Linked DNA regions of Homo sapiens: region 2 is linked to region 1. Evidence: promoter capture Hi-C in 16 types of primary human blood cells and fetal thymus (Javierre and others, 2016). All regions are on one chromosome and are shown on one strand. Each heading gives the region's core, a stretch centred on a gene start or on the middle of the fragment in contact. The rest is flanking DNA. Distances are from core to core; before and after follow the strand shown.

Region 1 (6,900 bases), core at 2,620-5,119:
CTTCTGTCCCCCAACACACATACCATCACCACCACTAGTCATAGCCCATCAACCTCCTGTCCCCCTTTATTCCCAATTCTGTATCATTTAAATCCAAAAGGACCTTGCACTGACAGAAACAGAACGAACAAAGCCAGAATCCTTTTGTTGTGGAGGAGGAAGGGAGTAGCCATATATGCTGTCACATCATTAATAATGTTTATCCCTTGACCCTTGATTAATGAAGGCCCTTTGCCAGGGGAAGCAATGCTTAAAGTCCATATCCCTTTTCAGCGTCACAGATGCCTAGCTGCACAGAGGTGGCTGGTTCTAAAGACTTCTATAAAAACAGCTGAGATGCAAACAAGCACAGCTACTAGAACCTCTTTTATTTCTTCCAAGAAACAGACCTGTACTGAAGGGTGTATGGAAGACAGAGAGTGGGGACAGGGAGAAGGAGAAGAAGGGGGAGGAGGAGGAGCAGGAGGAAGAGGAAGGGGAAAAGCAAGAGGGAGGGAGGGAAGGAGGAAGGGAGAGAGAGAGAGAAAGGAAGAGGAAAAATAGAGACCATATACAAGATAAAAACATGGACATAAAGCATGCAAATTTCCTTCACTGTACTGAGTCTCCAGTAATTCTCTTTACCAGTCTTATTAAAAATATTTTTTAGGCTGAGCGCGGTGGATCACATCTGTAATCCCAGCACTTTGGGAGGCTGAGGTGGGCGGATCACCTGAGGTCAGGAGTTCGAGACCAGCCTGGCCAACATGGCAAAATCCCGTCTCTACTAAAAATACAAAAATTAGCCGGCACAGTGGTGGGTGCCTATAATCCCAGCTACTTGGTAGGCTGACGCAGGAAAATCGCTTGAGCCTGGTGGCGGGTGGGAGCGGCGGAGGTTTGTAGTGAGCCGAGATCGTGCCACTGCACTCCAGCCTGGGCGCAGAGTGAGACTGTTCTCAAAAAAAAAGAGGGTATCAGGGTACATTATCTCCACATGCTGATAAGTTGTTACATAAGTCCCACCAATTCACAATTTAATATCATATACTCTACCCACTCAAATTTTCAGTCTTTCAAAGCACATTAACAAAGTTATCAGGAAAATGGGACTAGCACAACCAAAGATGTTACAGACTGCACACAATTTTGACACGGATAGCAACGTGACCAAGGAGTGGTTTTCTTCAGGAAACAATTCTACTAAAAAAACCCATGAAAATAAAAGTAATTTAAAATTTTCAAGACACATTAAATGCATGACTGTGGCTCTATATTGCCATTTAGTATGCGCTGTACTGTAGGAAATAAAATACCCTCTCCCTAGGGAATGTTAAACTGACTTCGAAGACAGTGAAAGCCTCCCATTATTCACTATTTCAGTGTTTCCTGGTTGTACCAAACAACAAACAAGTGAATTATTTCACCTTTTAAAAGCTACACTTTAAAAATGGGATAAAGTGGGATTCCCTCCTTCCTAAAAATGTTTCAGCCAGGCACAGGCTCACGCCTGTAATCCCAGTACTTTGGGAGGTCAAGGTGGGCGGATTACCTGAGGTCGGGAGTTCGAGACCAGCCTGACCAAGATGGAGAAACCCCATCTCTACTAAAAATACAAAATTAGCTGGGTGTGGTGGCACATGCCTGTAATCCCAGCTACTTGGGAGGCTGAAGCAGGAGAATCGCTTGAACCCGGCAGGCGGAGGTTGCCGTAAGCAGAATTCGCGCCACTACACTCCAGCCTGGGCAACAAGAGGGAAACTCTGTCTCAAAAAAAAAAAAAAAAAAAAAAGTTTCTACAGCTACTAAAAAACTTGCATTTAAAAATAGTTGATAAAAATATTCCTTATCAAAATAGTTGATAAAAATATTCCTCTGAGGCCAAGTGCAGTTGCTCACACCTGTCATCCCAGCACTTTGGGAGGCTGAAGCGGGAGGATCGCTTGATCCCAGGAGTTCAAGACCAGGCTGGGCAACATAGGAAGACCCCGCCTCCACACACACACAGAAACCCCACAAAAATTAGCTGGGCTTGGTGGCACACACCTGTGGTCCCAGCTACCTGGGAGGCTGAGGTAAGTGAATCGCTTGAGCCCAGGGGTTCCAGGGTGCAGAGAGCTATGATTGTGCTACTGGACTCCAGCCTCGGCCGAGCGACACCCTGTCTGTTTCTTTCCTTTTCTCTCTCTCTCTAGCTCTGGATCGTACAAGAAGGGAGACAAGGACCACTGACAAGATATGGTATGTGATACTAATCAGATTTGGCTTCTTTCTGTCCTGCTTCACCAGAGGCTGGACTCTCCTTGTTTCAGTTTCTCCGCTTTCCACAGATAAATCTTTTGTTTCCCGGATAGCCACTTGGCCTGTTTGCCCTTTGCTCCCATTTTTCCTTGTTTGCTTCTTTGTCTGAAAATTTATGCTGTCCTGCTGCCTCCGCTGGGCTTCGTTTCCACCTTTGCTGGAGGAGATTTAGCTGACAACCTCACAGATCTTCCCCGCCCCTTCTGCCGAGCTGATCTTTCTCTTGGAAATCTTACCCGCAGGGAAGGGCGAGTGTCCGTGCCTGCCTGCCTGCCTGCTGCAGCCCGCGCAAAGCTGAGCGGCCAGGGCGCTGCTGTTCCTTTAAAGTATTATTAAAAATAATATTTCAGCTTTTAAGTAACTCCTTGAGTTTGAATCAAAAGCTGGAAGAACCTCCTGGGCTCTATGAGCACCTCTGAATATGTCTGACTCTACATTCTAGAGGCTTCAATGTATTTATAATTTTGGCTCATAGATTCTCCACATCTTTTCAGCTTCAATTCTTGCTTTTCCCAGAAACAATTTTCAAGCAGGAGAGAATATTGATTGGACTTGATTTTCTCAGTTTGGGCAGAGGTTTGCAGACACTTTGCAGGTTGCCAGACCCTTCGTCCAGCCACCTGTCAGCTGGGGGTCATATGGTATAGAAAGCAGTCATTTCTATGCAAGGTACTGCTTGGGCCTGCCTCCCTCAAAGGGGTAGGGGATGCGGGCTGGACAAAGGGCTCGTGATCAAGTAAAGCACTGTGATGACAGCTGCTATTTCTATATCTCCCTAGACTTGTCTTCTAAATTAAACCTTGACTCCTCCCTTCCAAGCTGGAGCCACTGCTAACTACTGGGAGAGCCTTAGCAGATAAAGTCTCATGCCTCCAGGCGTTTGTGCATCCCATTTTCTCTGCAGAGTAGAATCTCCCTTCTACTTTTGTGCTCCTGGGGACGTCCTACTCTTCTTCCCCAGTTGGCTCTAAGGTTATCACATCGGTGAAGTGTTTCATTATCACTTTTTAGAAGAAACTGAGTCTTTTAGAGAAGTTAAGTGACTTTCTGCATTCATACTCATACTCAAGAAAATCTAACTCCACAATAACCAAAAATAAAAAGTAGAAAAAAACCCACAAGTGATGAGAAAAAAAAAAATCAAAAGTTATAAAAAATAAATGAAAAAATGAAATTAAAGGAAAAAAGATTTTTTAAAAAAGTAAAAAAAAGAAAAGAAATCTAACTCCAGAGCTCTGACACAAAATGCCTTAGGTGTTATTCTCAATGAGAGAAAAGGGACGTGAATCTTTAAGTGATTAAGTGAATCTTTAAGTAAATCTGTCGTACTAGCGTTTCAGGCGGCTCAAACACCACACGCTCCCGACTACGGCGGAATGGAGAGAATGTGCGCATGCTCGGCGGGAATCTGCGCATGCTCGGCGGGAATCTGCGCATGCTCGGAGAGAATCTGCGCATGCTCGGCCGGAATCTGCGCGAGCTCGGCGGGAATCTGCGCAAGCTCGGCGGGAATCTGCGCATGCTCAGAGTTCCGGGGCACGGTTTCCCCGCCCCTTTCAGGCCTAGCAGGAAACGAAGCGGCTCTTTCCGCTATCTGCCGCTTGTCCACCGGAAGCGAGTTGCGACACGGCAGGTTCCCGCCCGGAAGAAGCGACCAAAGCGCCTGAGGACCGGCAACATGGTGCGGTCGGGGAATAAGGTATAAAGAAAGCCATGGACTTGGGCTTTACCCGGACTGGGGATCCGGAGAGGGTGGTTCGGAAGCAGGAATCGTGGGATCGCGGTCAAGACAAAGAATGGGGCAAGAGAAGATCATGGTGGTGGGCTCAGTCAGGAGGGCCGGGACCGAGGGATGCGCTATGAGAAAAGCTGGAGATTTGGGGCTCCAAGACCTGAATTTGAGCCTCGCTGACTCCACCTCTTCCATTACCCACCCATCCCATCCCTCTTCTCCCTCTCTACCTGCTCTTTGTCTCACCTGCCTCCCCACCCGCCTCCCCTCTCTCTCTCTTTATCCCATTCCACTCCCTAGCCCCACTTCCTCTATTACTTCCGAGCCTGGGTTCTTAAGATCTCTATGAGAATGAAAATTAGCTGTGATAAAGCAACTATCCCACAGGGCTTGTTGTAAAACTTAAGAGAGGGACTATCTGTGACTAAAATAACTTAAACTGTAAAGCGTCGTATTATTAGCTTTATAATAACGTAGTATCCCGCATTTATTGAAAGCCCACTCTGTGAGGGACGGATCTAAACCTTTTATTCTTATCTCATTTAATCTTCACAACCCCTTGAAGTGAAAACTATTTATCCCCATTTTGCAAGTGGGAAAACCGAGGAATAAAGAACTGTGGGCTTTTCCTGGTGAAATCCGGATTTGAATCCAAGCTGTCTGGTTTCAGGGCCCTGGAGAACCCCTGTGTTGCTAGAAATCTATGACCATTGGTGTCCCAGATCAGTAACAGAAATTACAATGAATTTTAAAGTGATTTTTTTTTTTCAACATAAAAGAGTGGTAGTTGTCTCTGAAGGGTCACTAGAGGGAGATGTGGTTCCAGGGATTAATGAATTTATTCAATACAGATAAACAAGATACGAGTTTGAGCAACTGATCCCTAGTTCCCTCAACTCCTCATTGAGAAATGTTGATTAAAACGATCATGAACTTTTAATAATGCCACTCACCTCCTTTTTTCGTCCTCTTTCAGCTGCTGAAAACTTTGTAGCTCTAGTGGAGGAGCTGTTTGTTGCAGATGAACTGGAAGTAAAATTCTAACAGCCTGTATTGCTTCGGTATAGAAATGAAGAGTTGCTATGCTACCCGGTTTCTCTTTCTCAGTTTTCTTACTGCTGCCAGATAGGAACTCAGAAATATAGACCATTCTGCTTCCAGACAATAAGTTCCATATTTGAAACCCTTTGATGGCACTTACTGGATACCTAATTCATGACAAAAGTGCTTTAGTCCTCTAGAGTTTTCTGGTTTAAAAGTAGCTTTTGTGGGTGTGTATCAAATAAGTGCAGCAGCATATTTTGTGACTCTTAAGTTTTTTTAGGTTATCATGCCCCAGGCATTGAAACTGGGATGTGCATTTTACTGTTCTCAAAGGAATTTTGTGGTTTATTAGCACGTTTTTTTTTTCAAATAATCTAATTTTACTTCAGAAATCTCTTAGTGCATTGTGTTGTTTGTAAACTAGTGAAAAATAATCTTTTCTTTTCATGTGTTGCCTGAGATATAACCACATTTAGAAATCATCTATAACTTCCCTGATAGGAATTCATTCAGGTTTTTAAAACATTTCTAGGGTCAAGAGATCACTTAAAAAAGAGTAGTTTCTTTATTGATCACTTCTAAATGTTATTTTTTATCCCTCGTATGGAGTCGCATCAGTCTCCCTGTAACTTCCATCTGTTGATCCCGTTGTCTTTCTTGGCAGACCAATCCTTTTATACAACAGTTGTCAAATATCTGGGGGGAGGCCAGACACGGTGGCCTATACCTGTAATCCTAGCACTTTGGGAGGCGGAGGTGGGAGGATTGCTTAAGCCAAGGAGTTTGAGACCAGCCTGGGCAACACAGTGAGACCCCAACTCTACAAAAAAAATTTAAGAATTAGCTGGGCATGGTGGGGTGCAACTGTGGTCCCAGCTATTTGGAAGGCTGAGGTAGCGGGATCACTTGAGCCCGGGAGATGGAGGCAGTAGTGAGCCATGATCATGCCACTGTACTCCAGCCTGGGTGACAGTGAGACCATGTCTCAAAAAAAAGGAAAAAAAAATGGTGGGGAGGAAAACTGTTATGTTCCCTTTAATCTTCTCATCTGACTTAAATATCTAGTTATTTCCAACTGTTCTTTACATCATGTATTCTTCAGATTCTTCCCTAAGCTGCTCATTTCATGTTCATTTGTAATTAATTTTCCTGGTAAGATGTTAGCCCAGAACTGCTCACAGTTTGTTTGATCGGTACAAAGCACTGCGAGACTATCAGTCAGAGTCAAGGAATGTGAACTCCAGAAAGGACCTTAAACCTCATCTAGTCCAACAGTTTCCTACCTTTTAGTATTATTAACAGTGAGATTAAGTGACATTCCCAAGGACTCAGAACTAATGGGTAGGAGAGATGGGACTAGATCCCAGGTCTCCCGATTGCTATTATCTTTTTTCACCAGAAGACCCTTCTTTTCTCTTCTTGAATTCACTACACTGTTGATACAGACCAACATATTTAGGCGATGAAGTAAGATAGGTGTGGGGAATGTGGTGCAAAAGACATTTCACGTTGTTGATTGATTTTATAATTCACACTGAAATTGTGAGTTGCCATCAATCCAGGTCTCTTCCAGCTTGTGTTCAGGTAAAATTTGGAAGCCAGGTATAAATAACTTTACATGTATTCCTTTTAGGTTATGTTTCTCTTATTTTCTTAGTCTCCTACATACGTGATTGCTATGTAATGGCTTGTGCCTTAGCTTATGTGATTCCGTCTGTCACTTACTTGTTCACATGATTGACTCCTACTCATTAAGACTCACCCAAGGAAATCCACATTCAGGAAGCCTTTTCTGCCCCTTCACCGCTCTGGTATCCCCTCCACCAGTCTTGAGTGGATGCTCC
Region 2 (6,887 bases), core at 3,418-5,917, 2.1 Mb after region 1:
GTCAAAGTCATAAAAAACAAGAAAAAAACTGAGCAAAACTGTCACAGACCACAGGAGATTGGGGAGAGCTAACAACTAAATGAAATGTAGTGTCTTGGATTGGATCCTGGAATAGAAAGAGGGGATAATGGAAAAACAGGCCAAATCCAAATAAAATCTGGAGTTTAGTTAATACTTGCTTTTAAAGCACCTACAAATGCTCCTTGACTTGCCATGGTATTATGTCCTGATAAATCCAACATAGAGTGGAAATTTTTAAGTCAAATCATCATAAGTTGGAAACCATCTGTATTTTATTTTATTAAGTTTATTCTTTAAATCAAGAATAGGTTTTGAGCCAGGCTTGGTGGTTCATGCCTGTAATCCTAGTGCTTTGGGAGGCCGAGGTGGCAGGATCCCTTGAGCCCAGGAGTTCAACACCAGCCCGGACAACATGGAGAGCCCCTCATCTATTAAAAAAAAATGGCTTTGAATTTTGTCAAAGGCTTATGAAGATAGTTATATGACTTTTTTTATTCTGAGATACATTCATATGTGAATTATGTATATTTTGTTCATGTCAGATGAGCAACGTGCTGATGTTGTGACAAGGTTTGAGGGAGGCACATCTCATGCATGCACTTGGACACTGAATCATCATGCTTATGAGCTACAAAAGTATCTAGTATGGGAATGATATTGATGGTTTTCCGGTGTTGAATAATGCTTGAATTTTTGGAATAAATCCCACTTTATCATGAGAAAAAGTGAATCTGATAAAACCTAAAGTCCTTAAAGGCCTTCAAGGCTTTACTCTATCTCCCTGCCCTCACCCTCTCCCCCCATCCCACCTCATTACCCCTCTGGATTTGTTTGCTAGGGCTGCCATAACACAGTACCACAAACTGTGCAGCTTGAACAAACGGAAATTTCTTATCTCATAGTTTTGGAGACCAGAAGTTCGAGACCAAAATGTAGCAGGGTTAGTTCCTTCCAAAGGCTATAAGGGAGAATCTAGTCTGTTCTGTGCCTCTTCCCAGCTTTGGTGCTTGCTGGCAATCTTTGGTGTTCCTTGACCAGTAGAGGCATCACCCCAATCTCTGCCTTCCACTTCACGGTGCATTCTTCCTCTGTGCATTTCTCTGTGTCCCTTTTTATATGGACAGCAGTCATATTGGATTAGTGTCCCCCCTCTAATGACATTATCTTAACTAATAACATCTGCAATGACCCCAATTCCAGATAAGGCCACCTTCTGATGTACTGGAGTTTAGAACTTCAAAATATGAATTTGCGGGGAGAGGACACTATTCAACCCATAACACCCTCTAACCACTTCCACTTCACCCCTTGTAGCTCAGCTCCAGACATACTGGCCTTGTACAGCTCTTGCCTTAGGGCATTGACTCTGGCCATTCACCCCCTCAGAAAGCTCTTCCTTAGCTGCTCCTGCAGGTAATTCCCTCACCTCTTCTAAGTGTTTTCTCCAACCCACCTTCTTGCTGAGGCCCACACTGTCCCCCATCTGCATCTGCACCTCCCCAAGACTTCCTGATATCCCTTGCCCTCATCAATTTAACACATGCTTCTTTCCTTGCTGCAGTCATCCCTTCCTAACATCCTATACCATTTGCTTGTTTATTATAGAGGCTATTGTTTATTGTCTGCCTCCTCTGGTGCATATAAGCTTCACGAAGGCAGGGATCCGTATCCATTTTGACCACTGTATCCCATGTGCCTAGGAGACATTACACATCTCCTTGGCAAGTAGAGGGTACAATAAACAGTTGTTGAAAGCAAAGCAAAAGAAGAAAAGAAGGATTCTATTTCTAGAAATTGAGGACCCACCAGTGACTTGCCCTATGTTTCTCTTGCCTCCAGTCTCTGGGAAATAACACTGGAGGGAAAGTTAAGCCCACCACGGCTGTAAGAAATGACTTAGCAGAGCAGGAGACCACTAACTGTTCTGATAACACCTGAGATCACGCAAGGTTGCTTGGTGGGGGGAGGCGGGGGCAGGTGCAGAATCTACTCTTGGAGGCCAGGGCCTGGAGTTGCAAGACCAGTCCAGGAGAGGGCAGCATTATCTTCAAATCAAACCAAATAACTGGAGGAGCACAAGGAAGTAACCCACGTGAAAATTCCTCTACCCTATGGAAGTACAACTGTAAATTGGGTTCGGCAGCCCACGTCTAGAACTTAACACCACCCTTTAAAGTTTGCAAACCCTTTCACATACATTCATTCTCCCCTTAAAGTGCTCCTAGATGAGAGTTTAGCCATTGCCGGAGTGTGAGCGGAGTTTGCACTGAGCAATTAAACGATATCACCCATGTGGTCCCATGTTCCTCAACTTGTCACAGGTTCCAAGCACTTAACAGTCCTGTCCCCATGGTCAACCCCCATTTCCAGCCCACAGACCCTTCTTCCAGAAGGTTCTCAGCCTCTCTGAGTGAACCCACACTTTCAAATACAGCACATTTGGACTTACTGGCCAAGGGATTAAAAGGTATACAGAAAGCAAGTTTCTGAGAACTGAAGATCGTTTCACAGTTTTTTGGTCCTCCAGCTTGGGCTGCCATAACAAAATACTGGTGATCTCAACAACAGAAATGTGCTTCTCACAGTCCTGGAGACTAGAAGCCCCAGATCAGGGTGCCAGCATGGTTGGGTTATGATGAGGGCACCCTCCTGGCTTGCAGATGGCTGCCTTCTCAATGTGTCCTCATGTGGTGGAGAGAAAGAAAGAGAGGTCTGGTCTCTTCCTGTTCTTATGAGGACACTAATTCCACATGGGGGCCCTACCCTCATAATCTATCACCTCTCCAAAGGCCCCACCTCCAAATACCATCACAACAGGGGTTAGGACTTCAACATATAAACTTGGTGAAGACACAAACATTTTGAGTCCATAGCAAGCACCATGTCACAGTTTAACAGGAATGATTTCCTTCCCTGATAACACTCCCTTACATATTCATGAGTCAAGGCTCTAGCAAGTTCTAACAAACTTTTATCTGTCTTTGATGCAGGCTTGCTTATTTTCTCTTACACGTGGCCAGCCGTACCAAGCTCTACCCGATATGGCCCAACCTGCATAGTCAACATTCTGTCTGATGGACTTGGCTGCCAAAGCGGTATCCATGGTTGCAGTAAAAATAAACCTCACAAATGGTGACCAGGGGGCTGGAGGGTGGAGGGGTTCTAGATGGAAACTGGGCAGATGGGAGACAGGTGGGAAGAAGACTCCTTGTGAATAGCTTTTAATTTTTTTTTTTTTGAAACATGTGACATAGTTCCCATTACATATTTTCAATGTTTAAAAAATAATTTTAAAATGTTAAACAGTCATAATTCAACCATGGTGGCAGGAGGTCTGTGGTGCAGCTGAGAAACTGCTCTAAGCTCTGGCATGTGCAGTTGTATGTCTTCTGGCTGCTCTGTCTCAATTTCCACCCACAGAGCCAAGGAAGCCTCCAGCCAATTCCAGGGAGCATCTTTCTGGGCCCTGGGTTTAGAGACCTGTGATTCTCTTTATTCCCTCTGCTCCAGATTCTCCAAATCAGCTCACTTTGGGCTCTCTTGGCCCTGTGTCTTTCCTGTCACTGGTTTGTCAACTGCCTCCACTCAGTGCCTCCCCTTAGCCCTTCCTGTCCTTACGGTTTCTAAATGCAATTCTAATAGCTTCACAAATGTGCTCCTCCACTTTCCTAGGCACCAAGGAAACCTTGACCCACAGGCTTTAATTTTACCCTTGCAGTGAATTCTTATTGACTTTCACTGACCACTGGAACCCACCTACTTGCCCTGAGAACACTCCCATTATCTTTCAATTAAAATAAGACCCTTGATTTATACTTTAATATACATATATCCAGGCTGGGCACAGTGGCTCACCCCTGTAATTCCAGCACTTTAGGAGGTCGAGGCAGGAGGATCGTTTAAGCCCAGGCATTCAAGACCAGCCTGGGCAACACAGTGGAACCTCATACCTCTACAAAGCAATTTTCAAAATTAGCCAGGTGTGGTGGAACACACCTGTGGTCCCAGCTACTCAGGAGGCTGAGGTGGGAGGATTGCTCAAGCCCAGGAGGTCAAGGATGCAATGAGCCATGATCACACCACTGCACTCCAGCCTGGGCAACAGACCAAAACCTTGTCTCAAAAAATAATTTTATATACATATATATACACACATGTATCCAGACTCCTGCTGAAACTACCTCTCCCTGTTCCAATGCCACACATCTAGTTCAGCCTGCAGATGAGTTTCTTTGACTGCCTGGGATTGGTTTCCTTGTTTGTTTAAATTAGAATTGGTTTCTGACTTTTAAACCTTGAGGCTTTTTCACATTTAAAAACATCTGGATTTATACACTCTCCTTTAAAATTTTGAAGATCTGGGCTGGGCGCCATGGCTCATGCCTGTAATCCCAGCTCTTTGGGAGGCCAAGGCGGGTGGATCACCTGAGGTCAGGAGTTCAAGAAGAGCCTGGCCAACATGGTGAAACCCTGTCTCCACTAAAAATATGAAAATTTGCTGGACATGGTGGCATGCACCTGTAATCCCAGCTACTCAGGAGGCTGAGGCGGGAGAATCACTTGAACCCGGGAGGTAGAGGTTGCAGTGAGCCGAGATCATACCATTGCACTCCAGCCTGGGAGACAAAAGCAAAACTCCATCTTAAAAAAAAAAAAAAAAAAAAAAAAAATTGAAGATTTGACAACACTGAGCTCATGGCAAAACTCAGCTAAACCTAGAATGTAAAAGAAATCCTAGAAATAGAGCCACACTTACACCATCACTTGATTTTCAACAGAAGTTCCAAAGCAATCCAGTGAGGGAAAGGAAGGTTTTATCAACAATGTGGGCCAGACACAGTGGCTCACGCCTGTAATCCACGCACTTTGGGAGGCCAAGGCAGGTGGATCACTTGAGGCCAGGAGTTTGAGACCAGCCTGGGCAGCCTGGCGAAACCCCATCTCTACAAAAAATGCAAAAATTAGCCAGGCGTGCTGATATGCACCTATAGTCCCAACTACTCAAGAGGCTGAGGTGGGAGAATTGTTTGAGCCTCGTAGGCAGAGGTTGCAGTGAGCTGAGACCCAGCCTGGGTGAAAGTGAGATTCTATCTGAAAAGAAAAAAAAGAAAGAAAAAGAAAAGAAATCTCATTACACAATCAAACATCACATCACCAGAATGACTAAAAATACAAAAGCATGATAATATCGACTATTAGTGGGTTGTAGTATAGCTGGAATCCTCACATATAATTAGTGGGAATGTAAAATGGTGCAAACACTTTGGTAAAAGGTCTGGCAGTTTCTTCTACTTTCTGACCCAGCAATCCCACTCCTAGGAATATGCCCAAGAGAAATGAAAATAATATGTTCACAAAAATATCAATAGCTTTATTGATAATTGCCAAAAACTAGAAACAGTCCAGGTGTCCATCAATAGGAGAATGGCTAAACATACAGTGGAATAGTCATACAATGGAGTCATTCTCATCAATAAAAAGGACTGAATTACTGATATACTCCACAACATGATGTATCTTAAAAACATTACACTGAGTAAAAGAAGCCTTCCACTTCTATGAAGTTCTAGAACAGGTGAAACTAATCTGAAAATAATCAGAGCAGAAGTTACCTCTGGGAGGATGGAGGCAGAGACAAACCAGCCATGGGGGGACATGAGAGGATTTTTAGGAATGATGGTAATGTTTTCTATATTGATGGGCATTGGGATTACACAGGGGCACCTATTAGTTGAAACTTAGTGAATATACACTTAAGATTTGTGCACTTCATTGTCTACAAATTTTACATCAAAAGAAAACACTAAAGGCCAGGTGCAGTGGCTCACGCCTGTAATCCTAGCACTTTAGGAGGCCAAGGTAGGAGGATCACTTGAGGTCAGGAGTTTGAGACCAGCCTGGCCAACATGGTGAAGCCCCGTCTCTACTAAAAATACAAAAATTAGCAGGGCATGGTGGCGCATGCCTGTAATCCCAGCTACTTGGGAGGCTGAGGCAGGAGAATCACTTGAATTTGGGAGGCGGAGGTTGCAGTGAGCCAAGATCGCACCACTGCACTCCAGTGTGGGCAACAGAGACTCCGTCTCAAAAAAAAAAAAAAAACTATAAACAAATATTGATCTCTAATCAATGATGTACACACTGATGTATTTAGGGAGAAGTATACTGGTGTCCACAGTTACTTTGAAACACATCCAAAAGAATAGATTAATGGCTATAGGGATGGATAATGGATAAATATGAGATAAAGCAGGTAAAATGTTAATGGCAGAATCTAGGTAGTAGATGTACAAGTAGACAGTGAAATTCTGTCAACTTTTCTTTTCTCTTTTTTTTTTTTTTTTTTTTTTGAGATGGAGTTTCACTCTTGTTGCCCAGGCTGGAGTGCGATGGCGTGATCTCAGCTCGCTGCAACCTCTGCCTCCTGGGTTCAAGCAATTCTCCTGCCTCAGCCTCCCGAGTAGTTGGGATTACAGGCATGAGCCACCACACCTGGCTAATTTTTTGTATTTTTAATAGACAGCGTTTCTCCATGTTGGTCAGGCTGGTCTCAAACTCCTGACCTCGGGTGATCCACCCACCTCGGCCTCCCAAAGTATTGGGATTACAGGCGTGAGCCACTGCGCCAGGCCCAACTTTTCTTTATGTTTAAAATTGTTCACAATAACATGTTGGGGCTATCAGCTGGCATTGTCTTGGCCAACTTCTTTAACCTGTAACTGGTTGCCACACTTTCTACCCCTCCTTGCCTCATGGCCAGAGTGCTTCACTCATTTACATTACCTAGAGTGTTTCATCCTAGACACATACTGCATATCCTAATGATTGTTAACTAAATCTCTGGAAGAAGCAGAATAGCATTGTAA

The links. The method cuts DNA at HindIII sites, captures the fragments that hold promoters and counts their contacts. A CHiCAGO score of 5 or more calls a contact.
Region 2: a contact is called between a fragment that was not itself captured here and the fragment with the promoter of XRCC5 in region 1, in 1 of 17 cell types (neutrophils). The highest score is 5.0, in neutrophils.

What each region holds. Positions count from the first base shown.
Region 1 is chr2:216,105,479-216,112,378 of GRCh38, forward strand. It overlaps XRCC5 (X-ray repair cross complementing 5), which reads left to right and starts at 3,870. Exons shown (of 21, transcript NM_021141.4): 1 at 3,870-3,979. The coding sequence starts at 3,959. RefSeq lists an enhancer at 3,594-4,215. The HindIII fragment of the contact is 16,954 bases long and covers 1-6,900 here.
Region 2 is chr2:218,184,422-218,191,308 of GRCh38, forward strand. It overlaps LOC124906159 (small nucleolar RNA U13), which reads right to left and starts at 661; the gene lies at 558-661. The HindIII fragment of the contact is 6,006 bases long and covers 1,665-6,887 here.